Linked DNA regions of Homo sapiens: region 2 is linked to region 1. The links are contacts of gene promoters, found by promoter capture Hi-C in human tissues and cell types (Jung and others, 2019). All regions are on one chromosome and are shown on one strand. Each heading gives the region's core, a stretch centred on a gene start or on the middle of the fragment in contact. The rest is flanking DNA. Distances are from core to core; before and after follow the strand shown. Region 1 holds the start of HELT (helt bHLH transcription factor). Region 2 overlaps CFAP97 (cilia and flagella associated protein 97).

Evidence for each region. The method cuts DNA at HindIII sites, captures the fragments that hold promoters and counts their contacts. A contact is called where the count stands out against the background at its distance.
Region 2: a contact is called between a fragment that was not itself captured here and the fragment with the promoter of HELT in region 1, in 2 of the 25 tissues and cell types used here (bladder and liver).

What each region holds. Positions count from the first base shown.
Region 1 is chr4:185,015,970-185,020,931 of GRCh38, forward strand. HELT (helt bHLH transcription factor) reads left to right here and starts at 2,521. Exons shown (of 4, transcript NM_001300781.2): 1 at 2,521-2,986; 2 at 3,418-3,522; 3 at 3,778-3,874; 4 at 4,304-4,962. The coding sequence starts at 2,960. The coding sequence ends at 4,803. RefSeq lists enhancers at 1,771-2,351, 2,352-2,930, 2,931-3,510, 4,225-4,962. The HindIII fragment of the contact is 22,587 bases long and covers 1-4,962 here.
Region 2 is chr4:185,155,880-185,161,691 of GRCh38, forward strand. CFAP97 (cilia and flagella associated protein 97) reads right to left here. Exons shown (of 5, transcript NM_020827.3): 5 at 3,786-5,812. Among named protein-coding and RNA genes, the nearest start is that of SLC25A4, 16 kb to the left of the region's middle. The HindIII fragment of the contact is 5,742 bases long and covers 1-4,172 here.

The DNA.
Region 1 (4,962 bases), core at 1,271-3,770:
TATGTTGCGTGGAAACTAGGCCAGGATCAGGGAACTCCTGATCTTCACCCTGAGGAGAAGCAAAGAGAAGACAGCCCTGAGGCGCCCCACTCTGGGGCAGCGTGTGTGACCCAGGCCTTCGGACCGAGAAGGGAGAAAGGAAATACGTCCTTCCCTATCCTGAAGCGGAGGGCGTTCCAGGTTTCGCAGGTAGTGCTGCAGCCGCGCAAGGACCGGGCGAGGCTGCGCCCCTGAGCCCAAGTCTCCACTCACCGGCCTTCCCTTGCCCCCTCACCTGCACGCGGGTACTTTTAGCCCTGGGCAAGCCTTGAGCCAAGCGCCGAGACCAAACCCGGGAAATTAAACAGTGTGCATGGAATGAAATGTGGTCCGTGGAAGGTGCCTGCAGCTGGCGGTTAACACCGGCAGTAAGAGGATCAACGCCCGGGCCGCTGGCTTAAAAATGGGAGTGGGAGTGCGAAGTGTGCGCGCTCCTTTTTACCCATTCACGTTAGTTAATTTGGATGATAAGGGTTCGCGTTTAATCTCTTTGTGTGCGAGTGAATATCCTGAAATCGACAACCCCTGAGAGGGCACTCGCGGCTGGCAGAGCAACCTGGGAGGGTGCGGATCGTGTCCAATCTGGCGTGAAGCAGAAAGGAAACATCGTGAGGAGACTAGAGGCAGGACCGAGAGGGACACCCTAGGGGTGCGAGGTGCAGACCGAGCCCTCACATCTCCCAGGCCGCAGCAGGTGGGCCGATGGCTTCCCCGAGGCCTGGCACCCCAGGCCTGGCTCTGCGCCCTGAGGCTCCCAGGTCCCACCAGCTAGAAGAGCGCCGCCTACCCACCCCTGCCAAGGTCTAACGACCCCAAGGGGGGCGCTGGGCCCTGCCATCTCCCTGCAGAACAGAGAGAATTTAGGCAGGGTTAGGGGCAGGCAGAAAAGAAGAAAAATCTGAGAAGCGGTCTCAGCTGTTCCCAGATGGAAAAGATTAGAGAGGTGAGAGTTCGGTGGCTCTAGAAAGGGCCATAAAACAAAAATCATTTTTATCGTTTCAATCTGCAAGAAAGCTCACCCCCCACCCACACCCCACAAGCTCAGAGCCCCCAGAGTATAGGATCCGAGGCAGCAAGTGTGAGCGAGGCCCGTCCTGGGGGAGGTGGCCTCTGGCCGCGGGGCCAGGTTGCCCTCAGAGGCGCAGGCGGCCAAGAGAGTTCCCAGCCGCCGCCGCCCCCCTCCTTCCCCTTGGGCCCGTCCAGCAAATTTCCTCCCTCGTTTCTGTTCGTGCCTTCCCTCCCTCCTCCTCCCCCCGATATTTTCGCTTTCTAAAACCATAAAAAAGAGATCAACTTCCCAAACTTCACAGGGCCCTTTTCAGTGACAAATATTGATGCCCAAAGTGTCTGCGCTCTCCCGCCCCCAAACGTTAAGAAAAGACGCCAGCGAAAGGGAGACATAAAAAGTTAACAATGCTGTGAAAATATGTTTGCAGAAAATAGACAATCGTTGGATTAAACGTATTCAAGTATGAAATAATGCCTTTTTGTGTCAAAACTTGGGCGATGGGCGGGTACAAAAGTTCCCTGTGGCAGCTACTTGCTCCCTTTGTGAGCCGTGCGCTTTGGCGTCTCCACTTGGGCGCATTACTCAGAGCCCTCTAAGCGCGATTGTTTCTCCCTTTCTAATGACATTTACCGGATCAAAACATGCTGTTAATTCGATCAGAAGGCTTCACCCTCCCTGACAAAGCCACAATAATTTCTCCTGAAGTTTGTTAAATTGACCAAAATTAGGCAAATGAATAGGGGTCTGTAGGCGCCCCCTCTCGCAGGTGACGTTGCATAATGCTTGCCTGGGCCAGCTGCATTCCCCCTTTTCTTCTCGGCCCACTCTTCTCCGTGTTGCCCCCCAATCCTCCCACCCGCCCCTTCACACACAAACACACACACACGCCCGCCAGTCTCTCCTCCCCCACCCTCTGGCATTATTAAAATTTAGCCCAATGAAACTATTCATACTTTTCAATGGACATTTTCGTATAGGATAATAGGCTACAAATTGAGCCTCTTCCCCCCGCGAAGAGGGAGCAGGAGGGGTGGGGAGAAAAGAAAGCCAGCGACGTGGTCAGGGAGTAGGGGGGAGCGTCGCGTGCCAAACAGCGGCGGGAGGGGCGAGGCGAGGCGAGGCGGGAGCCTCGTGTGCCAGCCGCAGCCCCACACCTGCCGGGATGTCCGGACAAATAAAGCGGTGTAAACAAAAAGGGGGGAGAAGGACGTGTCACCAAGTCGTGTGAGAAAAGCCTGGGAACAAACGGGGCGCCTCCGTCTCCAAGAGCTCTCCCTTGAACCCGGCGGAACAGCCTATTAAAGGCTTACTTAATTACTTTAATGACTCTGGACAGGCTTTAAAACGCACTCGGCGCTGGGACGGCGGGCTTGCTGGGATTTGTAAACAGGCGATCATGTGAGACTCAGCGGTGGGACTAAAAGAGGCGACACTGTTTTGTGAGGGTCCTCGCCCCCCGGTGCCCGCGGCCGCTGCGCCCCTGCGCTCCGCGCCCGCGACTGCTGCAGGCGCTTGCTCGCCCGCCGGCCCCAGTTTACCGCCTCCTTTTCCCGCCCGAGCTGTTGCCATGCAAATGTTATTCCTGGGCCGATCACGTGTCCTTTGAAGGGCCACGTGGATTAACAAAGCTGATCTGCCCCCAGCTCGCCCCCCTCGGCTGCTAATTTTTTTTTTTTCTTAACTTCTTTAAAACTGATCTTGAATGCATACATCCTCCAAACGCAGCTCCCCTAATCCTATGGAATAATTCAACTCGTGAATGCATCTGGAGCCCTAGATGACCGCTTTATAAGGCAGCCCTCGGAGTTGGGAGGCTGCAGTCTACCTGGGACACTCGAGGAGGCACACGAGGCGGAAAAGTGGACGGGTGCCCCGCGCCACCGCCTCTCCCGAGGGCGCGTACTGACCAGGATGTCAGACAAGCTCAAGGAACGCAAAGTGAGTCGGCTGAGCCCAAATGGCACTTGCGCCCTGGTGGTGGAGGCATCTGACTCACCGACCCGCCACTTGGGTGGACCGATGGCAGGGAAGTGCCCGCACGGGACTTTGAGTGTGGAGGAATCTCGAGTGGTTTGGGAAGGGGGTGGGGTAGAGAGAGGAGGGTGCTCAACCAGGTAGAAGTCCTGCCTGGAGGCTGGCGGCCACCTCCCCAAAGGCCTGGGTAGGGTGGCTGGAAGGGGAGCGCGCCAGCGCGGGCGTCAGAAGGCAGAGCTCACCTGGCCCGAGCGTGGCGGGCCAGGAGTCCCTTCCTAGAGCGAATCTGAGCAGTGTGCGCGGCTGGAGAGGCGGCTTGCACCCAGCTGCTAGAGCCGCGCCTTTGACGACTTCCCGGGCAAAGCCATCCTAAACATACAACCCTCTCTTCGCAGAGAACCCCCGTTTCTCATAAAGTGATAGAAAAGCGGAGGAGGGACAGGATCAACCGCTGCTTGAACGAGCTGGGCAAGACAGTGCCCATGGCCTTGGCGAAGCAGGTAACGTTGGCGACCCGGAGCCGGGTGCCAGGCGTTGGGAGGCCTCTGCGGCCACTCTGCGGAGACGCCCGAGCCCGCGGACACAGAGGACCTCACTTGCGGGCCCCTCCCAGGCGGGGGGCCTGAGCGCAGGGCGAACCTCAGGAGGCTCTGGCGCAGATCCGCAGCCGCGTCCGCTCGCTGGTCCTCTCCAGCGCCACAGTGCCCGACCAGCAGGCGCTGGGCCGCTGCGAGGGGCCCTTCCTCCTTTTGCAGAGTTCCGGGAAGCTGGAGAAGGCGGAGATCCTCGAGATGACCGTTCAGTACCTGAGAGCACTGCACTCCGCTGATTTTCCCCGGGGAAGGGAAAAAGGTGGGCACAGGTTAGGGAATGGGACGCCTGGGCCAGGCGCCTGCGCCACCCAGAGACCCTGGGGCTGGGAGGGGAGTGACTGAGTGTTCCCGAGAGCTCTACTAGAGCTCCACTCTCCAGGAGGGCAGGGGTCCTGCGAAGGCGCCTCTCCCTGCTCGGCGACAGCAAGGCGGCGAGGGAGAACTGGTTCCCAGGGAGGCTGGTTCCACCTCCTTCTCCCGGGTGGGGTGGGTGGGGTCAGGCTCTCAGGGAAAGAGGGCGTTTGCGCGTGCCTCGCCAGTCTCTAAGACTGCGCAGAGGAGAGGGCGGGCCTCAAATGGGAACTTTGGCCAGAAAATGTGGTGGGAGGTGCCCTGCACCCGCTTTGGGCTCGCGTGGGGAAGGGGCACTCAGGGTGTGTCCGTCCTACGGGCTTTCTCGTTCCTCCAGCAGAACTTCTAGCGGAGTTTGCCAACTACTTCCACTATGGCTACCACGAGTGCATGAAGAACCTGGTGCATTACCTCACCACGGTGGAGCGGATGGAGACCAAGGACACGAAGTACGCGCGCATCCTCGCCTTCTTGCAGTCCAAGGCCCGCCTGGGCGCGGAGCCCGCCTTTCCGCCGCTGGGTTCGCTCCCGGAGCCGGATTTCTCCTATCAGCTGCACCCTGCGGGGCCCGAATTCGCTGGTCACAGCCCGGGCGAGGCCGCTGTGTTCCCGCAGGGCTCTGGTGCCGGGCCTTTCCCCTGGCCGCCTGGCGCGGCCCGCAGCCCCGCGCTGCCCTACCTGCCCAGCGCGCCAGTGCCGCTCGCTAGCCCAGCGCAGCAGCACAGCCCCTTCCTGACACCGGTGCAGGGCCTGGACCGGCATTACCTCAACCTGATCGGCCACGCGCACCCCAACGCCCTTAACCTGCACACGCCCCAGCACCCCCCGGTGCTCTGACGCCCACTCGCCCGCCAGATTTCTCCTCGCTTTGGGCGCTTTTAGGAGAAATGCTGTATATATTGTACACATAATGTGTAAATATTGTACCCCAAAAATCTGGGCTGGGGGAGGCAAAGAGCGAATGAGTCTTCTGAAGGATCTCCCCCTGGTAATAAA
Region 2 (5,812 bases), core at 52-2,551, 140 kb after region 1:
GGCTGCAGTGAGCCGAGATCACACCATTGCACTCCAGACTGGGCAACAGAGCAAAACTCTGTCTCAAAAAAAAAAAAAAGGCAAAATGGTCAGACACAGTGGCTCATACCTGTAATCCCATCACTTTGGGAGGCCAAGGCAGGCAGATCACTTGAGGTCAGGAGTTTGAGACCAGCCTGGCCAACATGGTGAAACCTCATCTCTAATAAAAATACAAAAATTAGCTGGGCATGGTGGTGCAGACCTGTATTCCCAGCTACTTGGGAGGCTGAGGCAGGTGAATCGCTTGAACCCGAGAGGCGGAGCTTGCAGTGAGCTGAGATCGCACCACGGCACTCCAGTGCAGAGCACTGGGCCACAGAGCAAGACTCTGTCTTAAAAAAAAAAATGGGCAAAGGAGATGAACAGACACTTCTCAAAAGACACATAAGTGGCCAAGAAACATGAAAAAATGTTCATTGTCACTATTAGAGAAATGCAAATCAAAACCACAATGAGATACTATCTCACAGCAGTCAGAATGGCTATTATAAAAAGTCAAGAAACAACAGATGCTGAAGAGGCTGTGGAGAAAAGGGAATGCTTATACCTGTTGACGGGAATGTAAATTAGTTCAGCCACTGCGGAAAGCAGTTTGGAGATTCCTCAAAAAACTTAGGACAGAGCTACCATTTGACCCAGCAATCCCATTACTGGGTATATACCCAACGGAAAATAGAGCCTTATTCCAAAAAGACACATGCAATTGTATGTTCATCTCCATGCTATTCACAATAGCAAAGACATGGAATCAACCTAGGTGCCCTTCAGTGGTGGACTGGATAAAGAAAATGTGGTACATGTGCACCAAGAAATATGACACAGCCATAAAAAGAATGAAATCATGTCCTTTGCAGCAACATGGATGGAGTTGGAGGCCATAATCCTAAGCAAATTAACACAGAGACGGAAAATAAAATACTGCATATTCTCATTTATAAGTAGAAGCTAAACACTGAGCATGCATGGACACGAACATGGGAACAGACACTGTGGACTACTAGATAGGGAAGAGAAGGAATGGGACGTGGCTGAAAAACTACCTGTTGGTACTATGCTCATTGCCTGGGTACAATATACCCATGTAACAAACCTGCATATGTACCCTCTATATCTAAAATAAAAGTTGAAAATTTTTTAAAAAGTGTTCTAATTATTACTCAAAATAATAAAATTAAAATCACAATGAGATATATTAAATATCCACTTGAATAGTTAAAACTTTGAAAAAAATGACTGAAAGTCCAGTTGCAGTGGCTCACATATGGAATCCCTTTGGGATCCCAAGTACTTTGGGAGGCCTCGGCGGGAGGATTGGTTGAGCCCCGGCGTTCGAGACCAGCCTGGGCAACACGGTGAAACCCCATCTCTACAAAAAAATACAATAATTAGCTGGACATGGTGGCGCATGCCTGTTGTCCCAGCTACTTGGGAGGCTGACATGGGAGGATCGCTTGAGCCAGGGAGGTCAAGGCTGCAGTGAGCCATGATCGTGCCACTGCACTTCAGCCTGGGTGACAGAGCAAGACCCAGGCTCAAAAAAAAAAAAAAAAAAGAAAAAGAAAAAGAAAAAAAGACTGACAATAATAAATATTAATGAGTCTCTAGAGCAACAGAAACTTACACACTTTCGTGGAAGAATGAGCTGTTACACTCACTGTGGACAACTCTGGCATTATCTGTTAAACACAAGCACACCTCTGAGCCAGCAACTCCACTGCTAGGTGCATGCCCAGCTAAAAAGTACACACAGATCAACCAAGGCACATTTACAAAAATCCTCACATTAGCATTATTTGTAATAGTCAAAACCTGGAAACCACCCACAATATCCATCAACCACATAATAGATAAAATAAATCATGGTATAGTCAAGTACCAGAATACTACATAAAAATCAACACGAACCAATTCTAGCTACATGCAACAATATCAAAGAATCTCACAAACATAAAGATGTTGAGCTAAAAAGTCATACACGAGAACATACTCCCATTTATATGAAACTCAAAAACAGGCAAAACTACACTCAAATGTTAAAAGAGAAGACCGTAGTTAATGGTAGAATTAGATTTTTCTAGTTTGTATAGGTAACTATGTGGGAAGCAGATATATTTGCTTAATGCTGCATATGTTCTTCATAAAACAGATTCTCAGAATCAAATCAAGAACAAAGCACCCTCCAAACTTTGGAGACTAGCTATAATTCCAAAATGTATGAAATAAATGTGATGTGTGGTTTTTTGGTGAAGACTCTCATTGTAATATATATCCTGTAAGAATTTAGCACCATAGTTTTTAATCATTTTTTGGTGACTCTTCAAATTCTTTTTTTTTGAGACAGAGTCTCGCTCTGTCACCCAAGCTGGAGTGCAGTGGTGTGATCTCAGCTCACTACAACCTCTGCCTCCTGGGTTCAAGCAATTCTGCTGCCTCAGCCTCCCAAGTAGCTGGGACTACAGGCACGCACCACCATGTGTGGCTAATTTCTATATTTTTAGTAGAGACAGGGTTTTACCATATTGGCCAGGCTGGTCTCGAACTGCTGACCTCGTGATCTGCCCGCCTCGGCCTCCCAAAGTGCTAGGATTACAGGAGTGAGCCACCGTACCCGGCCTCAAATTCTTTTACTATCTTATAATTGTGGATTAGAGCCATGTGAAAAAACCCTGTCTCATTATAGTAAAATAATGATGTTACCTCCTAAGTTTTATTTTGTAAAACAGTTAAACCTCACAAATGTCATCTAGGGCAAATAGTGCAACTTACCTGGATTTACCAACTAAATTTTGAAATGGAAGCACAGAATCTTAAGAGTCTATTATGGTGGCTCCAGAGATATCTGTAAATGAATTAAAAATCCATCACCAGAACTGAAAAATCAAATAAAATTTTCTGCCATAACACAATCCTATTTGCTCTAGCATTCTTGCTCTTTGCTGTTGAGAGCTCAGATACGCTACTGCAGGGGCTACTCGGGAATTTATTCCAATGGCGCTAGTTTTATTAAACCCTCATAAAAAATTCCTAAACTGATGTTTTGCAGCAAGCTTTAGTGTGTTTATTATATAGAATACATATGAAATGTTGACGTACATTTCATGTACATCAATGTACATGACATACATGACTCCTTTTAAAAAATATTTCCTGGCCGGGCGCGGTGGCTCACACCTGTAATCCCAACACTTTGGGAGGCTGAGGCGGGCGGATCACTTGAGGTCAGGAGTTCGAGACCAGCCTGGCCAACATGGCGAAACCCCATCGCTACTAGAAATACAAAAAATTAGCCGGGCATGATGGTGTGTGCCTGTAGTCCCAGCTACTCAGGAGGCTGAGGCAGGAGAATCGCTTGAACCTGGGAAGCGGAGGTTGCAGTGAGCCAAGATCGTGCCACTGCACTCCAGCCTGGGGGACAGAGCCAGACTCCATCTCAAAAATACAAACAACAACAACAACAACAAGCCCATTTCTTTAAGCTGTAAGAGTGTCCACTGTATTGTAGTACCATAATAATTTTACAGAAGCAATTAGATGATGTAGTTTAAAGAAATTCTGATTAAGAATATAATTTTAAGCAAACTCTTTTCCATGTAAATACTTTCAAAGACAGAAATAACTGACATCATCCTTCCAACTTTATTCCTACTAATTCTTGGTCTTGTAAGGCACGTAAAAATTATTCTAATTTTGAAAATTGGAACAAGACAGCCCATTTTAGAGATAAACATAGGATCAAAACTCAGTTATCTTTAATTCTTTTATTTCTTTCTTCATTATGCCAGGCTAGTTCTAAATGCCTAAAATACATTAAAATGGAACAGAAAATCTTAAAAGGATGTTAATTTTAAGTTTCTTACTAATCTTTCCTCATAGAAATAAAGAAGCCATAACTGTTAAGCACATTTTCTAAGATTGTATATAATCATTTATAGGTTAAGACTTTTTTGGCATTGAAGATAGTAAACTTTTTATGAATGTAATTATTAAAGTATAATCAACTCACATCTTTGGGTTTATATTGGTCTTAACATGTTTCATAGTTTGCAGTATTTGAAGAATCTGAAGATGACAGGCACAGCCGTCACTTACCCATGACCGTCACCTTCCTAAAGCTGTCTCGATATCTACTGTGGACACTCAGGTTAGCGGAGAGAAAACAACTGCATTACACTACATTTTTAAGCAAACCAAAGAACTTTATTTGGAGTAATAGCTAAGAAAACAGCTTTTTATGGAAACTGAAAAAGAGAGCAGAGGAAGTATAAGAGCTACCCCTTAAGAAATAACTTTAATAGTTAAAAAACTTTCGTAGAATCTTACTAAAAAGGAGGCAACATTAGTTTAAAAAATAACTGAACAAGAATCTGGCCTAATAACCAGACCTCGGATTAGCATACTTTCTAGTTATAGATGTAAATCTTCAAAGTACATATATTCAGTACAAGTCAAAAAAAAAATAAAATAAAATAGTGCCAGACCATCCTTTACTTTTTCATGTCCTTGAAATGAGAAGAGTAATGTACTTAAGTAATTCCTTCTTAAGAATGTCCCTTAAACTATAACAACTTCATAGCATCTTGACTTAGAATATACCACATTTTCCAAGTCCTATTTGTCTATTTATATTCATTATATATAAGTAACCATGACAACAGAATTGAAGTTCCGCTTAAAAGACTCTTGCCCTTTCCAACTTTTACTTTAAGTTGGATCCCTGTTATCAGTAATACTTAGATGAACCTCCCCTTTCAAAGTAGTAAAAACTAAAGCATTAAATTAGTACCTAAAATCAAAGTACAGTTGTTATTTATAAAACTATTGTGTTGTATCCTGACATGTGGCAACAAAGATAATATAAAATGTACTCAGAGACTAATGCCATTATGAACAGAAAAGACTATATATAAATATATAATCTTTATATATATATAAAAATCTTTTTTAAAAGATTTTTAAAATAAAATTTATAAAAAAGATTTTTTATATATATAAAAAGATTATATATATAAAACATATATATATATTTTTTTCTGGAACAACTTAAAAATCAATTTTAAAAAAACTGATTAATTCACTATTGGACAGATGTTCAAATGCTAAATTTAAAATTCAGCATTATCTTCTCTCTCTTGAAATATAGGTTATATAAACAGTAAAAGTACAGTAAGTTAAAAAACAAAAGAAAATAAAGCCTTGGTTTAGTATAGCTCAAGCTTATATACACAGCAGGTATAGTAACTTGTTCACCAGAACAGAGCATCGAATAACATTGAATGAAAATTATGGCCCCCAAAAGCAGAACCTCAAAGCCAGGTTGTGGCCAGGTGAATTATTTAACCTCACTGTGCCCATGTTCACAGGCCTGATCCTTAACAAAATCTATGAATACAAACTAAATCCAAGACATGTTGAATTGATGTTTTGTAAAATGCAGTAACACCTTACTGTTAAAGGTGCTAAGGAAAAAAGCATTCAGCATACATGCTACAGAGCCTGAGCACTGAAAAATGAAAATCTTATTGTGGCTACAGATCAAAAATTCATACTGAAAAAGATATTTGTCATTTAACATGGAACCTTTCCAATACATTTTAAGGGCATACTGAAAAGGCTAGTAGTGAAAAACGGCGGTAACAATGAGATAACATACTTTGTTATATAAAAGCCTAAGTTTCATAGAAAAAAAATTCTAATTTGAAAAGTCAACAACATTAAACCCTATCTGCCATTACCAATTCCATCAAGATTACTAGGTCTTTAAATGTGGGAC